2 separate regions of the Homo sapiens genome follow, and region 1 is linked to region 2. The links are contacts of gene promoters, found by promoter capture Hi-C in human tissues and cell types (Jung and others, 2019). All regions are on one chromosome and are shown on one strand. Each heading gives the region's core, a stretch centred on a gene start or on the middle of the fragment in contact. The rest is flanking DNA. Distances are from core to core; before and after follow the strand shown. Region 1 overlaps LINC02436 (long intergenic non-protein coding RNA 2436). Region 2 holds the start of HELT (helt bHLH transcription factor).

Region 1 (4,718 bases), core at 1,466-3,965, 44 kb before region 2:
TTCTAGATGTTTCTTTCTCGTGTATGCTCGATTTGTTGTATTGGTAAGCAAAGCCCTGGAAGGAAGCTTTACCTGCTCCTCAGGCTCACCCATCTTCACTGTGACTGATGGGGAGGCAGTGAGGTCAGTGAGGCTCCTTGCAGGATGCAGCCACTCAAGGCCAATCACGAAGATTGTTCTCCCTAAGGTATTTCTTGGTGAGGCATTTTAAGGACCTTTTAGAAAATTGTTTCTCAGAAACAACTGTGATTTTATTTTTGAAGCATTCACTGTTAACAACATCTGTGAGATTTTCAGTTTTTCCATTGATTTTAACCTTTTAGAAACTGTTCAAAATTTCCAGAATCAAAAGTTCCATCTTCTATTGAATGAGTAAGGTCCAAATTAAACTTCCATGTTGACCACATATGCTTCTTGTCTTTCTTCGGCATCATCTTGAGAGCCGGCCATATGATATGAGGGCAGGAATTAATGTTTGTGTGAATCTAAGTATGTTTGTTAGATCTCTAAGCCTAAAATTGGCAATACATCTGCACTAGAGCCCAAACTACCAATCCACACTCTATTCCACCAGTGAACCCACCTATGCTTTGCAGCAATTCCTCACTGAAGATACTGGCATATGCATTATCTGCCCTGTACTACCACCAGCAAACCATTATCATAGGTCTAAAACTCATCACATTTAGGCTGGACGTGGTGGCTCATGCCTATAATCCCAGCCCTCTGGGAGGCTGAGGCAAGAGAATCACTTGAGGCCAAGAGTTGAAGACCAGCCTGGGCAACATAGTGAGACCCTATCTCTACAAAAATAAAATAAAATAAATTAACCAGGTGTGGTGGCACACACCTGTAGTCCCAGCTACTCAGGAAGCTGTGGTAGGATCACTTGAGCCCAGGAGGTTGAGGCTGCAGTAAGCTGAGATCACACCATTGCACTACAGCCTGGGTGACAGAGCAAGGTCCTGCCTAAAAAAAAAAAAAAAAAAATTCACATTTTTCTCACACAAAAAAATCATGAAACATTTATCTGCACATGGCATTAAGATAGCTACTATATTATGTTCATTAACTAGCACGTGAGAGGCCTAGCACATGTAGGTCTTGGTGAGTCTAAGTCTGAGTGGTACATAATTCAGAGAAAAGACAGAGGATCTAGATAATATATTCATCTTACATATGGTCAACAAGCACTGTATTTTTAAGAATTTTAAGAAACTGCAGAGTTTGAGAATTTTAAGAAGCTTCTTCTGATTAGATCAGCATTTCAGGGACTCCTTGATGGACTTAGCTTTCACCTTACAATAATTCTCCAATCTTTATGTTGGAAGAAATAAACCAGATTTGGGACGTGAACATTTGATGTGTATGTATTCACCTTTTGCTGTATCACTAGGGAGCAGTTATTAAGTATAGTTCTATGAATCTCGTTATTGAGGTGGTTTCCAGCATAGCAGGTGTAGTCGTTAACCATGGCTACTGAGTGTGACTGGACCTCTCTGCTGAGGCCTCACAGACATGCTGCTGTATAACCTCACTTCCGGCCAGGTGCAGTGGCTCACGCCTATAATCCCAGCACTTTGGGAGGCCAAGGTGGGTGGATCACTTGAGATCAGGAGTTCGAGACCAGCCTGACTAATATGGTGAAACCCTGTCTCTACTAAATACAAAAAAATTAGCCAGACGTTGTGGTGCATGCCTGTAATCCCAGCTACTTGGGAGGCTGGAAGGCTGAGGCAGGAGAATTGCTTGAACCCAGGAGATGGAGGTTGCCGTGAGCCGAGATTGTGCCATTGCACTCCAGCCTGGGCGACAAGAGCGAAAACTCCATCTGGAAAAAAAAAAAAAGAACTTCATTGCCTTGCTCTCCTCTCTCCGCTCATTCCTTAGAGAAAGGATTCCATTGGATCTTTTTCTGTTAGACCTTGTGTCACTTAGGATGAGGCTCTGTGTGAGTAAAAGAAACTTGGCCCCTATGTCTTAAACAGGACAGAAGCATGTTTTTCTGTTCCATAAGAGAAGAATGGAGGCAGCAGCCCATGCTGATGTGGCGGCTCCAGGTATTACCCAGGCTCTCTACCTTCCAAAGCTGAGTTTCCTGCCTTCAGGGTCACATCGTGGCTCCAACAGCTGCTGGAGCTCTGGCCTTCGTATTCTTGTGGCAGGCCTGAAGAAGGGGAAAAGGTGGAATGGTGGAAAGGGCTTCTTTCTAGCTGAGTCTGTTCCCTTTAAGCACGATTCTCAGGGCACTTGCAAACACTTCTGCTTAGGCTCGGCGCGGTGGCTCACGCCTGTAATCCCAGCACTTTGGGAGGCTGAGGCGGGCGGATCACCTGAAGTCGGGAGTTCGAGACCAGCCTGACCCACATGGAGAAACCCCGTCTCTACTAAAAATACAAAATTAGCTGGGCGTGGTGGCGCACGCCTGTAAACTCAGCTACTCGGGAGCCTGAGGCAGGAGAATCACTTGAACCCAGGAGGCAGGGGCTGCGGTGAGCCGAGATTGTGCCATCGCACTCCAGCCTGGGCAATAAGAACAAAACTCCGTCACAAACAAACAAACAAACAAACAAAAAAACACTTCTGCTTTTATCTTACCGGTGGAATTTAGTCAGGTGGATAAACCTAGCTGCAAAGATGGCTGGGAAATGTAGTCTTTATTCTGAGTAGCTTTTCTGACCAGCTAGGAAGGGAGGGAGGGAGGACGGTGGATGTTGTGGTAGAAAACTAAGCTTCTGCCAGATCACTTAGGTGGAATAGTCTGTTTATATCCATGAAGGCTTAACGCCTCATAACTAGCGACCACTATTTTATAGAAAGAACCTGTATGGATACACGATTGATGCAATTAGTGCAGTCAGCAGTCATCTGGACATCCTCAAAGAAGCTCAGAGATTGTTCTTGTGTCATATGAGCGTATTCGCAGTAATAGTTTATTCCGTACTTGAATGTTTTCAACTGTAAGAATTCATATAAAGCAAATTTAAACTAAAATCACAAAAATACATCCACTGTATATATTTAACAAAGTCTTCAGGGAATATAATAGACTGACGTAAAACTGTGAGACATCTAAAACACAGTAAAAGGCTATAAAATAACTAATGGCCTTTAATGAAAGAATTAACTAAAGTATGATTGTTTAATACAATCCCCCAAATAAGCTTCTTGTTAATTTTTAGGGAGGTGGAGGAACTCCAGCACCAACTTATATATTCTACATCCTATGTCTTTGAGTAGGTTTACTAATCATAGGTCTTTGAAGATAACTTTCTTTACAACTTGTGCTACCGTTTAATAGTCGTGTGATTTTACAAGGAGGTTTATTGAAGTATAATTTACGTATGATAAAATTCACCCATTGTAAGTGATTTTAGTAAATTTGTTGAGTTGTGGAACTGCCACCACAAACCAGTTTTAGAACATTTCCATCTGCTTTCTGCTTCTGTAAGTTTGTTTTTACTAGATATTTCCTATAAATGGAATCAATTATGCAGTATGTATTTCGTGTCTAACTTCTTGCGCTTAATGGTTTTAAAGTTCATCCATGTTGTAGCATGTAAAGAAATCCATTCCTTTTCATTGCTGAATAGTATTCCATTGTAGGAATGTACCATATTTTGCATATTCATTCATCAGTGGATAGCTATTTAGACTGTTTCCAGTTTTTGACTAGCATGAATAATAGTGCTATAAACTTTTGTGTACATGTCTTTGTGTGGACATGGATTTTCATTTTTCTGATAGATTCTTAGAAATAGAATTGCTGGGTTGTATTATTCGTTTGTTTAAGTTTTTAAGAAACTGCCAAACTGCATTCCAAAGTGTCTGTACCATTTTACAATCCTAGTAGCAATACATAAGGGTTTCAATTTCCCTGTTTCCTTAACAACACTTGTTATTGTCTGTCTTTTTCATCATAGCCATCCTAGTGGGTGTCTAGAGGTATCTTCTTCTGGTTTTAATTTGCATTTCCCTAATGAATAATAGTTTTGAGCATCTTTTCTTCATATATTAGACATTGACATTTCACCTTTGGGAAAATGTCTATTCAAATCTTTTGCTCATATAAAAAATTTGGTCATTTGGCAAGAACTTTCTATGTGTTGGTCATTGTAAATGCTCTCTATATATTCTAGATTTAAGTCTTTTATCACATATATGATTTGCACACATCTTATCCCAGCCTGTGACTTGTCTTTTTATGTTCTCAATCGTGTCTTTTTTTTTTTTGAGACAGGGTCTCACTGTGTCAACCAGGCTGGAGTGCAATGGCACAATCACAGCTCACTACGGCTTGACCTTCTGGGCTCAGGTAATTCTCCCACCTCAGCCCCCGGAGTAGCTGGGACTACAAGTGTGCACCACCACACCCAGCTATTTTTGTATTTTGGGTAGAGATGGGGATCTCACCATGTTGCCCAGGCTGGTTTTGAACTGCTGGGCTCGAGGGATCCACCGGTCTTGGCCTCCCAAAGTGTTGGCGATTACAGTCATGAGCCACTGCACCCAGCCCATTGGTGTCTTTTAAGCACAAAAGTTTTAAATTTTGATCTAGTCCAGCTTATCAATGTTTTCTTTTATGGTTTGTGCTTTTGGTGTTGAGTTGTAGGATTCTGAACAAGTTGTCTAACCTCTTCAAGCTTCAGTTCCTTTGTCTATGAAATCGTAATAATAATTCTTACCTCAAAGGTAACTGTAATTTAAATCTGATTTCT
Region 2 (4,528 bases), core at 1,440-3,939:
AATGCTCAAGATGGGGCGGGTGCAGGAAGCCGCGAATCCCGCCCTTAAGCGATGCCTAGAATATCTGCCTGAACCTCCATTTAACGTCCCCCTCCCTCAGACTCCACAGCGGGCCCCTCACCAAGTTACTGAGGGCTGTTACCTTGAACCCTGTCAGCCTTGCGCCCTGGGCACCGCGGAGGGGACGGGTGTGGATGAGCAGAAGGTAATACATAAATCCCTCTCTTTGGGTCTTTATCAGAAAACGTTTATTACCAGGGGGAGATCCTTCAGAAGACTCATTCGCTCTTTGCCTCCCCCAGCCCAGATTTTTGGGGTACAATATTTACACATTATGTGTACAATATATACAGCATTTCTCCTAAAAGCGCCCAAAGCGAGGAGAAATCTGGCGGGCGAGTGGGCGTCAGAGCACCGGGGGGTGCTGGGGCGTGTGCAGGTTAAGGGCGTTGGGGTGCGCGTGGCCGATCAGGTTGAGGTAATGCCGGTCCAGGCCCTGCACCGGTGTCAGGAAGGGGCTGTGCTGCTGCGCTGGGCTAGCGAGCGGCACTGGCGCGCTGGGCAGGTAGGGCAGCGCGGGGCTGCGGGCCGCGCCAGGCGGCCAGGGGAAAGGCCCGGCACCAGAGCCCTGCGGGAACACAGCGGCCTCGCCCGGGCTGTGACCAGCGAATTCGGGCCCCGCAGGGTGCAGCTGATAGGAGAAATCCGGCTCCGGGAGCGAACCCAGCGGCGGAAAGGCGGGCTCCGCGCCCAGGCGGGCCTTGGACTGCAAGAAGGCGAGGATGCGCGCGTACTTCGTGTCCTTGGTCTCCATCCGCTCCACCGTGGTGAGGTAATGCACCAGGTTCTTCATGCACTCGTGGTAGCCATAGTGGAAGTAGTTGGCAAACTCCGCTAGAAGTTCTGCTGGAGGAACGAGAAAGCCCGTAGGACGGACACACCCTGAGTGCCCCTTCCCCACGCGAGCCCAAAGCGGGTGCAGGGCACCTCCCACCACATTTTCTGGCCAAAGTTCCCATTTGAGGCCCGCCCTCTCCTCTGCGCAGTCTTAGAGACTGGCGAGGCACGCGCAAACGCCCTCTTTCCCTGAGAGCCTGACCCCACCCACCCCACCCGGGAGAAGGAGGTGGAACCAGCCTCCCTGGGAACCAGTTCTCCCTCGCCGCCTTGCTGTCGCCGAGCAGGGAGAGGCGCCTTCGCAGGACCCCTGCCCTCCTGGAGAGTGGAGCTCTAGTAGAGCTCTCGGGAACACTCAGTCACTCCCCTCCCAGCCCCAGGGTCTCTGGGTGGCGCAGGCGCCTGGCCCAGGCGTCCCATTCCCTAACCTGTGCCCACCTTTTTCCCTTCCCCGGGGAAAATCAGCGGAGTGCAGTGCTCTCAGGTACTGAACGGTCATCTCGAGGATCTCCGCCTTCTCCAGCTTCCCGGAACTCTGCAAAAGGAGGAAGGGCCCCTCGCAGCGGCCCAGCGCCTGCTGGTCGGGCACTGTGGCGCTGGAGAGGACCAGCGAGCGGACGCGGCTGCGGATCTGCGCCAGAGCCTCCTGAGGTTCGCCCTGCGCTCAGGCCCCCCGCCTGGGAGGGGCCCGCAAGTGAGGTCCTCTGTGTCCGCGGGCTCGGGCGTCTCCGCAGAGTGGCCGCAGAGGCCTCCCAACGCCTGGCACCCGGCTCCGGGTCGCCAACGTTACCTGCTTCGCCAAGGCCATGGGCACTGTCTTGCCCAGCTCGTTCAAGCAGCGGTTGATCCTGTCCCTCCTCCGCTTTTCTATCACTTTATGAGAAACGGGGGTTCTCTGCGAAGAGAGGGTTGTATGTTTAGGATGGCTTTGCCCGGGAAGTCGTCAAAGGCGCGGCTCTAGCAGCTGGGTGCAAGCCGCCTCTCCAGCCGCGCACACTGCTCAGATTCGCTCTAGGAAGGGACTCCTGGCCCGCCACGCTCGGGCCAGGTGAGCTCTGCCTTCTGACGCCCGCGCTGGCGCGCTCCCCTTCCAGCCACCCTACCCAGGCCTTTGGGGAGGTGGCCGCCAGCCTCCAGGCAGGACTTCTACCTGGTTGAGCACCCTCCTCTCTCTACCCCACCCCCTTCCCAAACCACTCGAGATTCCTCCACACTCAAAGTCCCGTGCGGGCACTTCCCTGCCATCGGTCCACCCAAGTGGCGGGTCGGTGAGTCAGATGCCTCCACCACCAGGGCGCAAGTGCCATTTGGGCTCAGCCGACTCACTTTGCGTTCCTTGAGCTTGTCTGACATCCTGGTCAGTACGCGCCCTCGGGAGAGGCGGTGGCGCGGGGCACCCGTCCACTTTTCCGCCTCGTGTGCCTCCTCGAGTGTCCCAGGTAGACTGCAGCCTCCCAACTCCGAGGGCTGCCTTATAAAGCGGTCATCTAGGGCTCCAGATGCATTCACGAGTTGAATTATTCCATAGGATTAGGGGAGCTGCGTTTGGAGGATGTATGCATTCAAGATCAGTTTTAAAGAAGTTAAGAAAAAAAAAAAATTAGCAGCCGAGGGGGGCGAGCTGGGGGCAGATCAGCTTTGTTAATCCACGTGGCCCTTCAAAGGACACGTGATCGGCCCAGGAATAACATTTGCATGGCAACAGCTCGGGCGGGAAAAGGAGGCGGTAAACTGGGGCCGGCGGGCGAGCAAGCGCCTGCAGCAGTCGCGGGCGCGGAGCGCAGGGGCGCAGCGGCCGCGGGCACCGGGGGGCGAGGACCCTCACAAAACAGTGTCGCCTCTTTTAGTCCCACCGCTGAGTCTCACATGATCGCCTGTTTACAAATCCCAGCAAGCCCGCCGTCCCAGCGCCGAGTGCGTTTTAAAGCCTGTCCAGAGTCATTAAAGTAATTAAGTAAGCCTTTAATAGGCTGTTCCGCCGGGTTCAAGGGAGAGCTCTTGGAGACGGAGGCGCCCCGTTTGTTCCCAGGCTTTTCTCACACGACTTGGTGACACGTCCTTCTCCCCCCTTTTTGTTTACACCGCTTTATTTGTCCGGACATCCCGGCAGGTGTGGGGCTGCGGCTGGCACACGAGGCTCCCGCCTCGCCTCGCCTCGCCCCTCCCGCCGCTGTTTGGCACGCGACGCTCCCCCCTACTCCCTGACCACGTCGCTGGCTTTCTTTTCTCCCCACCCCTCCTGCTCCCTCTTCGCGGGGGGAAGAGGCTCAATTTGTAGCCTATTATCCTATACGAAAATGTCCATTGAAAAGTATGAATAGTTTCATTGGGCTAAATTTTAATAATGCCAGAGGGTGGGGGAGGAGAGACTGGCGGGCGTGTGTGTGTGTTTGTGTGTGAAGGGGCGGGTGGGAGGATTGGGGGGCAACACGGAGAAGAGTGGGCCGAGAAGAAAAGGGGGAATGCAGCTGGCCCAGGCAAGCATTATGCAACGTCACCTGCGAGAGGGGGCGCCTACAGACCCCTATTCATTTGCCTAATTTTGGTCAATTTAACAAACTTCAGGAGAAATTATTGTGGCTTTGTCAGGGAGGGTGAAGCCTTCTGATCGAATTAACAGCATGTTTTGATCCGGTAAATGTCATTAGAAAGGGAGAAACAATCGCGCTTAGAGGGCTCTGAGTAATGCGCCCAAGTGGAGACGCCAAAGCGCACGGCTCACAAAGGGAGCAAGTAGCTGCCACAGGGAACTTTTGTACCCGCCCATCGCCCAAGTTTTGACACAAAAAGGCATTATTTCATACTTGAATACGTTTAATCCAACGATTGTCTATTTTCTGCAAACATATTTTCACAGCATTGTTAACTTTTTATGTCTCCCTTTCGCTGGCGTCTTTTCTTAACGTTTGGGGGCGGGAGAGCGCAGACACTTTGGGCATCAATATTTGTCACTGAAAAGGGCCCTGTGAAGTTTGGGAAGTTGATCTCTTTTTTATGGTTTTAGAAAGCGAAAATATCGGGGGGAGGAGGAGGGAGGGAAGGCACGAACAGAAACGAGGGAGGAAATTTGCTGGACGGGCCCAAGGGGAAGGAGGGGGGCGGCGGCGGCTGGGAACTCTCTTGGCCGCCTGCGCCTCTGAGGGCAACCTGGCCCCGCGGCCAGAGGCCACCTCCCCCAGGACGGGCCTCGCTCACACTTGCTGCCTCGGATCCTATACTCTGGGGGCTCTGAGCTTGTGGGGTGTGGGTGGGGGGTGAGCTTTCTTGCAGATTGAAACGATAAAAATGATTTTTGTTTTATGGCCCTTTCTAGAGCCACCGAACTCTCACCTCTCTAATCTTTTCCATCTGGGAACAGCTGAGACCGCTTCTCAGATTTTTCTTCTTTTCTGCCTGCCCCTAACCCTGCCTAAATTCTCTCTGTTCTGCAGGGAGATGGCAGGGCCCAGCGCCCCCCTTGGGGTCGTTAGACCTTGGCAGGGGTGGGTAGGCGGCGCTCTTCTAGCTGGTGGGACCTGGGAGCCTCAGGGCGCAGAGCCAGGCCTGGGGTGCCAGGCCTCGGGGAAGCCATCGGCCCACCTGCTGCGGCCTGGGAGATGTGAGGGCTCGGTCTGCACCTCGCACCCCTAGG

What was found. Contacts are between HindIII fragments. The study calls those that stand out against the background at their distance.
Region 1: a fragment that was not itself captured here is called in contact with the fragment with the promoter of HELT in region 2 in 3 of the 25 tissues and cell types used here (H1 embryonic stem cells, aorta and liver).

What each region holds. Positions count from the first base shown.
Region 1 is chr4:185,060,697-185,065,414 of GRCh38, reverse strand. The region is part of intron 3 of LINC02436 (long intergenic non-protein coding RNA 2436); the gene reads right to left. Among named protein-coding and RNA genes, the nearest start is that of LINC02436, 11 kb to the right of the region's middle. The HindIII fragment of the contact is 4,120 bases long and covers 656-4,718 here.
Region 2 is chr4:185,016,651-185,021,178 of GRCh38, reverse strand. HELT (helt bHLH transcription factor) reads right to left here and starts at 2,689. Exons shown (of 4, transcript NM_001300781.2): 1 at 2,224-2,689; 2 at 1,688-1,792; 3 at 1,336-1,432; 4 at 226-906. The coding sequence starts at 2,250. The coding sequence ends at 407. RefSeq lists enhancers at 1-57, 58-985, 1,700-2,279, 2,280-2,858, 2,859-3,439. The HindIII fragment of the contact is 22,587 bases long and covers 1-4,528 here.